Regions from separate parts of the Homo sapiens genome. Here regions 1 and 2 are each linked to region 3. Evidence: promoter capture Hi-C in human tissues and cell types (Jung and others, 2019). All regions are on one chromosome and are shown on one strand. The core of a region is centred on a gene start or on the middle of the fragment in contact, and the rest is flanking DNA. Distances in the headings are between cores, read along the strand shown. Region 1 has its middle 60 kb from the start of CRBN. Region 2 has its middle 43 kb from the start of CRBN. Region 3 holds the start of SETMAR (SET and mariner transposase domain methyltransferase).

Region 1 (4,041 bases), core at 655-3,154, 1.1 Mb after region 3:
TATCTTCCCTTGAGCAGATGCTGAAAACTGGCTCAGAGCTGCTAAGAGGAAGCCTTTCCTCTGACTCAGTTCCAGGGGTTACCTGTAGGCATACGTGAGACTTTGAATATATATCAATCTTGGGGGAAGCTAACAATGTTGTTAAAGCAGATATAATCATCCAGGCTTTTCCTTATCTCAAAACCTGGCTATAGCCAAGATATCCAGCACATCACAAGGATAAGTCAGATGTAAATAAAGACCTGGGGAGGGCTTAAGTAGCTTTATATCATTTCCTTCCAGGCTCTCAGCAGAGCAAAAAGAATCTCCAACTTCTTAAATAGAAATGTTATAAAACCAAAGCGTTTTCATGTCTGTTTCCCTTTTCCTAACCCCCTTCACATCGCTGTTTCAGAAGATCCAGATTTTAATGGCTAAGTAGTTTTGTGTTTTCTATTATGATTAAAGTTTAACAATAATCCTGTTTTATTTCAGTAGGACTTCAGTTTCCTAAGTGCATTCACATGTGTGGTCTTGTTCAGCCTCCCAACAACCTTGCTGGATAGGCCAGGAATGTTGCCTTCTTTTTTTTTTTTTTTTTTTTTGAGACAGAGTCTCGCTCTGTCACCAGGCTGGAGTGCAGTGTACTGCAACCTCTGCTTCCCAGGTTCAAGTGATTCTCCTGCCTCAGCCTCCCAAGTAGCTGGGACTACAGGCCCGTGCCAGCACGCCCAGCTAATTTTTGTATTTTTAGTAGAAATGGGGTTTCACCACGTTGACCAGGATGGTCTCGATCTCTTGACTTCGTGATCCACCCACCTCAGCCTCCCAAAGTGCTGGGATTACAGGCGTGAGCCACCACACCCAGCCGTTGCCTTCTTTGATAAATGAGAAAGCTCACATTCTGAGGAGGGAAGTCCCCAAAGCACACACGCAGTAAGTTGGGCTTTCCCCCTTTAGTCTTTAAATGTCCTGCATGAAGTGAGCACAGTATTAAACACCAGAAAACAGAAGCCCCCTTCCACCTTCTTCTGAACAGTAACAGCAGGCGTCTCTATTATAGAAATGTAAACATTCCTGTGGTCCTTTAGAATAGCTCCACAGTCTCAATGATTTTCAAGTTGAGTAAGTTTTAAGTTCCTTGAATAAAGTTATTGAAAATGACCTAATAAGTTGCATTCAAAAATTTAAGTACCTAATTTCCATCCATTACAACCTATTATACTACAACAAGAGAAACATATATTAAAAGTATTTCTTTACTGCACTTACTTTACATAATGCAGACCTGATGATGGAAACTAAGCTCCTTGGATTAAACTGCTTCAACCTGACCTGATTTATTGGTCCATTTTTAAGTTATAGCTAGCTGCACATGAGTATGAAATGTAACTTTTTGGCCTGAGAAAGTGTGAATGCATATTCTAAACGCAGTGTTTCAAAGTAGTGTTTTACTATTATTTTATTTATGCTAAAAGTTTTCTACATCAAGTTTGATCAGGGTTTCTGGAGCATAGTTCATGATGTATGTGAGTATATCCATCTCTACCCCCACATGTAGAAACTGTTGACAGCTGTTGTGATACCTAGGTTCTTGCCTTCTTAGTTTAAAAGAATTTAAGCAAGAGACACACAGTTAAGGAGATGCAGCATAGAGCAGTTTATTGCAAAGGAGAAAGAATGCTCTGAAAGTTCGGTGCAGAATAGACATTACAACCTGAGAGAGGATTCGGGGCACGCTGCTCCTAAGGATGAGACAGCAAAGACAGGCACTAGGGAGACCCCCTTTGTGGGAGTCTTACATGATGATTCATAGGTGGTTGGGAAGAGGTGTTACTAGTAAGCATGTTCTGGGTGATCCTCTGAGTGCACATGCGCAGTAGCTGTACATACTTGTTCATATGTCACATGTCTCATCAGTATCTTAAATCTCCACCCAGGGTGTGTTTTTTACTATTATAATGAGCAAAGGGTCAGTGTGAGGACCGGACAAATCAAAACGTGCTTGCTCTCTACAGGGGAAGTTTCCCACTGAAGATAGCTTTGCTTGACTGAGCTTGAGTACAATGCGAATGCTGAAGCTTATTGTGTTGACTGTAGGGTTGCCACATCCCAAGATTATGGTCACCACTTTTTTGACTTGCTATCCTGCTTCAACACCTACATACATATGCTGTATGCAGTTAAAAGAATGTCTGTGGTGTCCAGCTGCTTTTTGTGTATCAATCTTAAGCTCTGTGACCTTGGACAAGTTACTTAATCTTTCTAAGAATTAGAGATGAAATAAATAATCTTCTATCTCATGAACCTATTTTGAAGAATAAATTATATAACCACTGGAAAATGATAGATATAATAGCCTGCCCACAGTTAGCACTTAGTACACATTATCTATTGTTATTATTATTCACAGGACAATCTCATTTATGCAAAGTGCCTTAGCAATATAAAGGAGAATATAAAAGAGAGTCAGGGAAGAAAATGGTCTATGTATTACTTTCCTGCCTCTGCTATAACAAATTACCACACATATGATGGCTCAAAACAACATGAATTTACTACCCTACTGTTCTATAGATCAGAAATTAGTTTCACTAGGCTACTATCAAGGTGTTGGCAGGCTTGCATTCTTTACAGAAGCTCTATGGGAAAATCCATTTCCTTGCCTTTTCAAGCTTCTAGAGTGACCCCTTCTTTGAGCTTCAAAACCAGCAATAAATGGATGGTCAAGTTTTCTACTGTATCACCCTGATATTCCTCTTCTATCCCTCTGTCTTTCTCTTATAACAGCAGTCCCCAACCTTTTGAGAACAAGGGACCAGTTTCATGGAAAACAATTTTTCCATGGACTGGGGTTGAGGCAATGATTTCAGGATGATTGAAGCACATTACATTTATTGTGCCCTTTATTTCTATTATTATTACATTGTAATATATAATGAACTAATTATATAACTCACTATAATTTAGAATCAGTGGCAGCCCTGAGCTGCTTTTCCTGCAACTAGATGATCCCATCTGGGGGTGATGGAAGACAGTGACAGATCAGGCATTAGATTTTTATGAGGAGCATGCAACCTAGATCGCTTACTTGCACAGTTTACAGTAGAGTTTGTGCTCCTGTGAGAATCTAATGCCACTGCTGATCTGACAGGAGACAGAGTTTAGATGGTAATGTGAGCAATGAGGAGTGGCTGTAAATACAGATGAAGCTTCACTCAGTTGTGTGCCACTCACCTCCTGCTGTGTGGCCCAGTTCCTAACAGGCCACGGAGCAGTAGCTCTCTGTGGCCCAGGGGGTGGGGATCCCTGTCTTGTAAGGATTCTTGTGATTACATTGGTCTTACCCAGATAATTAGGACTAACCTCAACATTCTTAACTTAATCACATTTGCAAAGCCCACATATTCACAGGTCATGGGGATTCACAGGTCATTCCTTTTGTCATGCAAGCCCACATATTCACAGGTTCTGGGGATTAGAATGTGGACATCTTTGTGGGAGAAACATTATTCAGACTACCACAGTTTATGCCAAATATATGCCATAATAACCACATGAAGGTTCATGGAGTCTGTTCATAGGAGAGTTCTAACTCAGAGCTTTCTGTCTTATTTTGAGGCTATTCCCATAAACTTGATTCTTTATTTCTTTGTAGCCTAGTACCAATTGGAAATAGTCAATTATTTGGTGTTTCAGGATAACGTAAATTTAAAAAATAAGAAGAAGAAATGGTCAATTGTTGTGTGCCTGGGAAAGGCTGGGAAATTAGGAAATTAAGAAAGGCTGGGAAATTCTGCCCACATCCCATTGTCCATTCCTTGGTCACATGCTGCCCACTCCCCAACTCAAGGAAGCATAGAAAATATCAGCTGATGCTCAAGAAAAAAAAATAGTAAACTCCCCCAAACCAGTATCTGTCAATCTGTCACATTTTCTGTCTGTTGTAATAATCCAGTTGGAAAGGAAAGCAGAGGAGAGGCTAAGAGGGTAGAAGTGACTAAAAGGGGATACAGAAGCAACTAAGACAAGCTTTCACATTATAGTTTGCTAAAGGCCCAT
Region 2 (3,902 bases), core at 371-2,870, 1.1 Mb after region 3:
GTTCCAGTCCTGAGTCTGAAGACTTGAGAATTGGAGAGCTGATGGTGTAAGTTCAAGTTCAATCTGAAGACCTGAGAACCAGGAGTGTTGACAGCAGGAAAAGATCGATATCCCTCTAACAGTAAGAGAGAATAAATGAGTCCTCCATTCCTCCATGTATTTGTTCTATTTAGGCCCCCAACAGATTGGATGAGGCTGCCCACATAGGGGAGGGCTAGCTACTGAGTCCACTGTTCAAATGCCAATCTCTTCTAGAAGCACCCTCACAGACACATCAAGAAATTATGTCTGACCAGCTATCTGGGCATCTTGTCGCCCAGTCTAGTCAACATGCAAAATTAACCATCCCAGTTATCTTGTAGTAGGGATGAAGAATATGAATCAATACATGAATTAATGCAGAAAATAGATATGCTTCACCTACCAAGGTGGTGTGTCATCAGGGATATTCCACCAATGTTGGGGAAGTGCACACCACAAATCTTAAAACCAGAAGATTTTCCCCCTAGACTACTGTATATATAATTGTCAGACTGTTTATTTGCAGTCTCATGACCTTAAACCCAGAGAATTTGGGGACCTGCCAGAAATGAAAAGAAGGAAAGGCAACACAAGTATCTCTCTTACATTTAGAGCTTAAGAATTATCCTGGATATATTTACTTATTTTCAACTTCCTTCCCTCCTCCTTTTATATGCTCATCATGAGGAGGCTTCATGCTATCTTAACCTGATTTAAGCTTAAATGGAAACATTTGCCTCTTTGATCATGATAAGAACAAACTAGTACCTTCTTCCTCTTCCCAAGTAAAGAAATCTTTAGAATGTGTGAAACTGTTGACAGTAAGTCCCAATTCCCTGAAGACAGACTGATCATTTACTTAGCATTCTACCTTGGGGGCTACACTGAAGATCTCAGAGGTCAAGTCCCAAATCAAAACTTGAGTGGAATATTTTAAAATACAGCCAGTAACCAAGAGAGTTAAAAGCTCTTTGGCATGTTTATATCTGACCTTCATCTATTAACCTCAAGGAAAGGTAATGAAACTTGCATTCACGAGAGATGGTATTATCTACTTCAGGATAATCTATTTAATGAATGAGTAATAAGCAAATTTTTAAAGAAAATGAAATTCCTGGGGACTCTTAGAAAATTTAACATCGCAATTTGGGAATATGTTTACCATATAACTATGAAAATGATAATGAGCCCACAATTTCTGAGCCAGAAAATTTCTTCATTGCTAAATAATGCACTAGAAAGAAAACAAACCAGCACCACAGGATCTGCAACAGCCAATATGGATTAAATATGGATTTTTAGAACCTTGTTATAATTAGCTGTATTAAAACGCCCTTGTCACAGTATCGAACAGTAATCAAGACACTAGGAAGGAGATGTGAAATAGAAAGACACGAAACAGCTCAGACAGAACTATCTTCATCATCAGTGATGTGTAGGATGATGCAAAGGACAGGAGAAAGTTAACCTTGGTGAGGGAGTTTAATTTGTGTGTGTTTGCCTATTTATACTCAGGTAAGACAAAGATTAAATGAAACCATGTATTCATGCCTTGCTTCAACATTTTCAGAGCCCCACTCCACCCATAACCATCACTTACTGAGGAAACTGGGAACTCCACCGGCATCCAAGACCCTTCACTATCTGGCTGTCACTTCTTTGCTGTAAACAGATTTCTTGCTATTCCCCTCAAGAGGTAGTAAAACCTAGTGGTTAAGAATCTGTGTTTAAATTCTAATTCGACCACTAACTAGTTGTGGGATAAGGTTACACAATTTATTTCAGCCTCCATTTCTCCATCTGTAAAGGAGAATTACTCATCATAGTCTTAAACAAGGATTAAATGAGATTTTCTATGTCACGTGCCTAAGCACATGCCTGACATACAGTAGGTATACCAGACAGCTACTGTGAAGTTACACTTAGCTGCTCTCTATTCTCTGGCAGTTACCCAGCTTCAGGCTTTTGTGGGTTTTTAGCCTTTCCTGTTCAAAGGCTCTGCCCATCTCATGTCTTCAAATCCAAATTCATCCTTCAAATGCCTCTCCAGATAGCTCCCTAACTCCCCACCTCCCCTGAAAATCACAGTTCAGCTCTCCTGCCTCCTCTTCGGTTCCCTGGAAGACACACACTCAGCAACTGACCATCAGCTCCATGAGGACAGGAAGCAGGCTCCTGCCATCTTCATCATAGCCACATGGGCAACCTCAGCATCTAACAAGCATTAGGTACTGGGTAAATACTAGGTGATGAAAGAGGCAGAGAGAAGGAAAAGTGAAATGAGGGGAGAAGAAGGGAGTCTGAGAAAGGAGAGGCAAATGCAGGTGGTAACACAAATGCATGCAAAAGCAGCCACCCAGAGAAAGCCAGGGAAGGAAGGACCAAGTGGGAGAGAGTAGGAAGCAGATTAGAGGTGGCTATGATTTTCGCCTTAGTGGTTGCTGCTGTCAGCCTGTAAATGGCTCCTGCAGCTCTTCAGGGGGATCTCTGCTAGAATAAAGCAGCTCTGTGTAAACAATATCCCTGTGTGGTCATCAAAGAATGTGCAATAGGCTGTCTGTGTGAGGGTATATATAATAGATTCTCTGATGAGATCGCCACTTTGCCCCTTGCTATTTCTGTGTGCTGCTCTGATGAAATCTCAGAATATATTACAACTAGGACCACTGGAATTTTACTGTTGATGGGGATGAAGGGGAGAAGGAGAAGCCTTTCTGAAGCTCACAGATTCTAAATGATGATGACCACCACCACCACCCCTGGCCTGCAGTCAGCCCCAGCCTCAGTCTGTGGAAATCATTCTCACTGTGAAGCTTGTTCACAATTCTGGCTCTTTCCTCACCTGTGCTCTGTAGTGGTTGCTGCCTGTTATCTCTAAAGGATAGATTTGGGGGATTTTTGTCTATTTTCAGCCATCCTGTTAGAATTCAGTAATCCTCTTTCAGGTGTGTCTCTACCTGATATTTTCATTACTTACTGTCTAAACAAGCCACTGGAGAGGTCCTGATAAGAAAGGTCAAGCCTTACTCCCAAATTCTCCCAGATTGGCCTCTGCTTTGTGAATGATCATGAATGGAGGTAAGGCACAGCCTACACATAGCTTGCAATAATAAGTAGAGTTACATCTACTATGTCCATAGTCTAGCACTATGCATTTTACAGACATTATGTGGTTTGAATTAATCCCTATATCAATTGTATGCATTCATATATTCATTTTTACAACAGATAGATACTAAGCATCTACCATGTTCCAAAAAAGGTGGGTAAAGGAGTTTACAAAACCAAGTCCCCACTGTCATTCCTTTACAGAAACAAACAATAAATATACAACATGTCAGGGGTTACAAATGCTCTGACAAAAATAAGCAGAACACAGTCATGGAATGGAGATGTGATTGGAATGGGGAGAACTTATTTTATATAATGGGGTCAGAGAAGTTCTCTCTGATAAGGGCAGTCTTGAGCAAAGATCACAAGGAAAAAAAGAAGTAAATGCTCCTGGGAAACAGAGGTACAAGCATGGGGGCCAGAAGTGCAAAGGCTCTGAGGTGTGAGTGCATCAAGTATTTCTCAGAAATACCATGAAGGCTACTGTGGCAGGAGTGGAGTGAACAGGAGAAGTAGTAAGGGCGAGATTAGGAGTACACGGCATCTTAGTTGATATGGTTAGGCTTTGTTTCCCCACCCAAATTTCATCTTGAATTGTAATCCTCCATCTTGAAATGTAATCCCCCATCTTGAAATGTAATCATATATTGTTGAGGGAGAGACCTGATGGGAGGTGATTGGATCATGGATCCCCACTGCCGTTCTTGTGATAGTGAGTGAGTTCTCACAAGATCTGATGGTTTTAAGGGGCTCTTCCCCCTTTGCTTTCC
Region 3 (4,112 bases), core at 522-3,021:
CTCTAGCCTGGGTGATGGAGTCAAGCTCCGTCTCAAAAAAAAACCCTTTATCTTAACCTAAACATTTCTATTGATCCCAGGTCTTCAGACAAACTCAACCAATTGTTAACCAGAAAAATTGTTAACCAGAAAAATTAAAATCTACCTATAGTCTGGAAGCCCCCCCCACCACTTTGAGTTGCCCCGCCTTCTGAACCAAACCCATGTACATGTTAAATGTATTTGATTGACGTCTCCTCTCTCCCAAACATGTATAAAACCAGGCTGTGCCCTAACCACCTGGGACACATGTTCTCAGCATCTCCTGAGGGCTGTGTCACAGGCCATGGTCACTCATATTTGGCTCAGAATAAATCTCTTCAAATATTTTAGAGTTTGATTCTTTTCCTTGACATCTTTGAAAGCTGCTATTGAATCTCTTATCTTATCTGATCCTCACAAAAACCCCTAGGAAAAAGAAAGGGCAGATAGGGTTCATTGTTGATAATGGATGTTAAAGGGGCTATGCATTTTTAAATTATTATTTTCATTTTGCAGATGAAGAAACTCAGGCTCTGGGAAGTAGCTAAGATGTCTAAGCTCCGAACCATACTCTCCAACTTCCACGTCCAGCGCTCTTTCCACTTCAAAATCTTTGGTCATTCCTTATTCCTTGGGTAACGCTCAGGCCAAGGTCGGAGGGATAAGAAAGTCAGTAGAGGCTGGGAGCGTGGCTCATGCCTGTAATCCCAGCATTTTGGGAGGCCGAGGCGGGCGGATCACCTGAGGTTGGGAGTTCGAGACCAGCCTGACCAACATGGAGAAACCCTGTCTCTACTAAAAATACAAAAATTAGCCGGGCGTGGTGGCCCATGCCTGTAATCCCAGCTACTCGGGAGGCTGAGGCAGGAGAATCGCTTGAACCCGGGAGGTGGAGGTTGCGGTGGGCCGAGATCGCGCCAGTGCACTCCAGCCTGGGCGACAGAGCGAGACTCAGTCTCAAAAAGAAAAAGGAGAGTAGAAAGGGCTTTGAGGTAGTTAATAGAAGCAAACATTTACTGAGTTCTTACAGCAAACCGGAAAGTGTATTTTCCTTGCCATTTTCAAAGCACTCCGGAAGAGAGGTACTGTTCCACTGTACGCTGGAAGACTCTAAGGCTGAGCCACAGCTAATTTACACTCGCCCAAGAGCCCACAGCGTGAGGGAGACCACAGCTAAGGCTGACTCGAGGGGCTGTTTTTATGCACGACACCGGCTGCGATCCATTAATAGGCCCCACGGCTTATCCTACCTGTGAGAGACACCTGAGACCAGGGAGGTAAATGACTCCCCCCGTGATGCCTCCTTGAGTTCTGAGGACAGGACTGGACAAAAAGCCAGGTTCTCACAAGGCCTCCGGTTCTGCGCTTCAGGGAATGGACTGAAAAGGACAACACCCTTGCTAAGGTGATGCCGTGGGTCAACAGAAAAAGGCCCAGGCCGGGGCATGCACACCTATTCCCGCGCACCAACGGGTGCGCTGTAAGAGAAGACAAAAGGTCGCGACTGGGAGGCCGTCCCAGCGAGGCGGCTTGAGGAGACCACGTGGGGGAGCCGCGCGCCCGCCTCCCGCGCCGCCTGGCCCCGCCCCTACCTGGAAGGGCGCCGGCGCGGCCCCCGGGGGCCACGCGCCCACCGGCAAGTTTTCCTGGCCGCACGCGACATCCAGCTGCTCAGTCGGGGCCTCAGGCTTCTCCTTAAACTCCGCCATCCCACAAGGCCGTGTCGTCTTTGCCGCTTCCGCGAACATTTACCCGCCTCACGCAACGCCCACTACCCTGACAGTCCTGGGCCGCGCGGTGGATGCTGGGACTTGTGGTCCCGTGGCCCCACCGCCTCATGGGAATTGTAGTTCGTTTCTTCTCAGGAGTGGCCTGGAAGGCGCTTCCCTTCCTTGACTTTTTGGGTCTGGCTCCCGTTTTGATTTCAGCCAGAGGCACCACAGATAATTACAAAACCATGTAAGGTACGGACGAAACAAAGTGAGGTGCTTTAGTTTTTCCTGGGAGCATCAGAGAGGGGGCTTTCGAGGTGAGGTCATTTGTCCAGGTTTTTGAGGGCTCACTGCACGTTTGTGGAGTGGAGGCAGGGGTGCGTTCTAAACCGAGCGGGGAAACGCACACCAAGGTTTCTAAAGGTCTGCGGCTTGCCGGGAAGTTGACTGACATGTGATAGGGTTTGTGCCAAGGCGATAGCCTCACAGGGTGCCTTAAGGAATTTGTGTGGGGGCATGCTCACTCCCTGATGGAGGTATCCGTGCCCCTTTGCCTGTCCTTTTCCCTCCTCTCCATCCCTCTACCCTCACCCCTCCAAACCCCTGCCCTGCCAAAGGATTCTGATAGCCTCAAGACTGCTGAATCCGGTGGAGCATTTTCAACCTCACTGAAGCTCTCTGACATGATTGTCCTGCTTCTCCTTGAAACTGTAAACCAAAAATAAAATTCCAATCCTCCAAACCATCTGAAGGGACCCCTCCTCTCTGCCAAGGTTAACCTGAGAAAGTGGTTCAGGCCATGATGGGAAGGGGGGTCCAACATGCCTCATTATGCCCTTCTTCCTTTTGGAATTCAGGAAAAGCCAGCCAGCATCAACATCAACACACACCTTAAGTCTGATAAGAAACATTTACAATCTGTTCTCTGAAATTTACCTCTTGGAGGCTTCATCTCCACGATCAAATTTGGTATCCACAACCTCTTATTGCAACCCAGACATTCGTTTCTATTGATTTTAGGTCTTTAGATAATAACCAGTTGCCAATCAGAAAATCTTTAAATCTACCTATGACCTGGAAGCCACCCCTCACCCGCTTCTCGTTGTCTGCCTTTCCAGATCCAACCAATCTTACATGTATTGATTGATGTATTATGTCTCCCTAAAATGTGTGAGAGTAAGCTGTATCCCAACCACCTTGGGCACATGTCATCAGGACTGCCTGAGGCTATGTTGGGGGCGCATTCTTAAGCTTGGGAAAATAAACTTTCTAAATTGAGACCTGTCTCAGATAATTTTGGGTTCACAAACCCTTCTGACCTTGCAGCTTCTGAGGTCCCATTGGCCTAAATGTGTTTCCATCTTGCAGACCTTTCCTTGTTAGTATCCTCTTGTTGTTTTCCTGCCTGACTGTTTCTGAAAAGTGGGTGTGATTCAGGGTTCTGCCCTTGACCTTTTTCTTTGCTCCCCTTCCCTGAACTTTCTCATTAATAACATCCACTCCCATGGCTTCAAATATAAAGGATTAGGTCACCAGTCTCCAACCCAGATCAGACGTTTCTCCTCAAATCCAGTTACGCATATTCAGCTAATGATTGAGCATTTCTGTTTTCTGTCCTACAGGCTCCTCAAACTCAAAATAATCTGAATTGACTTCTTCTGCCAGTCTTGCTTTTTCTTCTTTAAAGTTAACTGGGAAAATAATTTGTGATCTACAGAGCCACTAAAGCAACAAACCAGTTACTCTGTATTCCTTCACTTCACTAGACTCATATAGCTAAGGACGTGGTGGGTAAGTCTTGTTGATTCTGCCTTCATGTTCTCATTTTTGCCTCTTCTCACTTAGTCCTAGGCTCTCTCATTTCTTGCTTGGACTTTGGAAGTTCTTTGCTTTAAGTCTGTCATTCTCCATATCCCCAAATCACCCTTACTGCCGCTGCTACAATGACCTTTGAAGATCCTTGTCCAGTTATTATATTTTGCTGCTTAGATTCTTATTTGCTCCATTTTCTCTCAAAGTTTACCTTCTATATTCTGTCTTATGAGCCTTTGAGGACCCAGACTTTACCTATTTCCTTGGTCTCTTTTGCTGCTGTTCTCTGTTGGAACCCCTTGTTCTGTTGACATTCCCTCAAAAAGCCATTCTACTTGGGCCTCTGGGCCTTTGTCCACATTGTTCTTGTATCTCCAGTGCCTTTACCCAGGACTGTCTGTCTGCTCAGCTCAAGTAGTCCCTTCTCTGTATCTTTCTTTACCCTGTTTCCCTTAGCATTGGTTACCCTCTTTACATTAGTTCTCCTACTTTATAAGCCATTTCTTATGTTCCCTGCAACTATTTAATGTAAGCACAGGCAAAACCATCTTATTGAACTCATAAAAA

The links. The method cuts DNA at HindIII sites, captures the fragments that hold promoters and counts their contacts. A contact is called where the count stands out against the background at its distance.
Region 1: a contact is called between a fragment that was not itself captured here and the fragment with the promoter of SETMAR in region 3, in 1 of the 25 tissues and cell types used here (dorsolateral prefrontal cortex).
Region 2: a contact is called between a fragment that was not itself captured here and the fragment with the promoter of SETMAR in region 3, in 1 of the 25 tissues and cell types used here (dorsolateral prefrontal cortex).

The regions. Positions count from the first base shown.
Region 1 is chr3:3,237,289-3,241,329 of GRCh38, reverse strand. No RefSeq gene overlaps it. Among named protein-coding and RNA genes, the nearest start is that of CRBN, 60 kb to the right of the region's middle. The HindIII fragment of the contact is 3,395 bases long and covers 207-3,601 here.
Region 2 is chr3:3,220,393-3,224,294 of GRCh38, reverse strand. No RefSeq gene overlaps it. Among named protein-coding and RNA genes, the nearest start is that of CRBN, 43 kb to the right of the region's middle. The HindIII fragment of the contact is 4,948 bases long and covers 1-3,902 here.
Region 3 is chr3:4,301,028-4,305,139 of GRCh38, reverse strand. It overlaps SETMAR (SET and mariner transposase domain methyltransferase), which reads right to left and starts at 1,771. Exons shown (of 3, transcript NM_006515.4): 1 at 1,614-1,771. The coding sequence starts at 1,769. It also overlaps a transcript of SUMF1 not described here. RefSeq lists enhancers at 1,334-1,403, 1,432-2,174 and a silencer at 1,494-1,833. The HindIII fragment of the contact is 5,892 bases long and covers 1-3,644 here.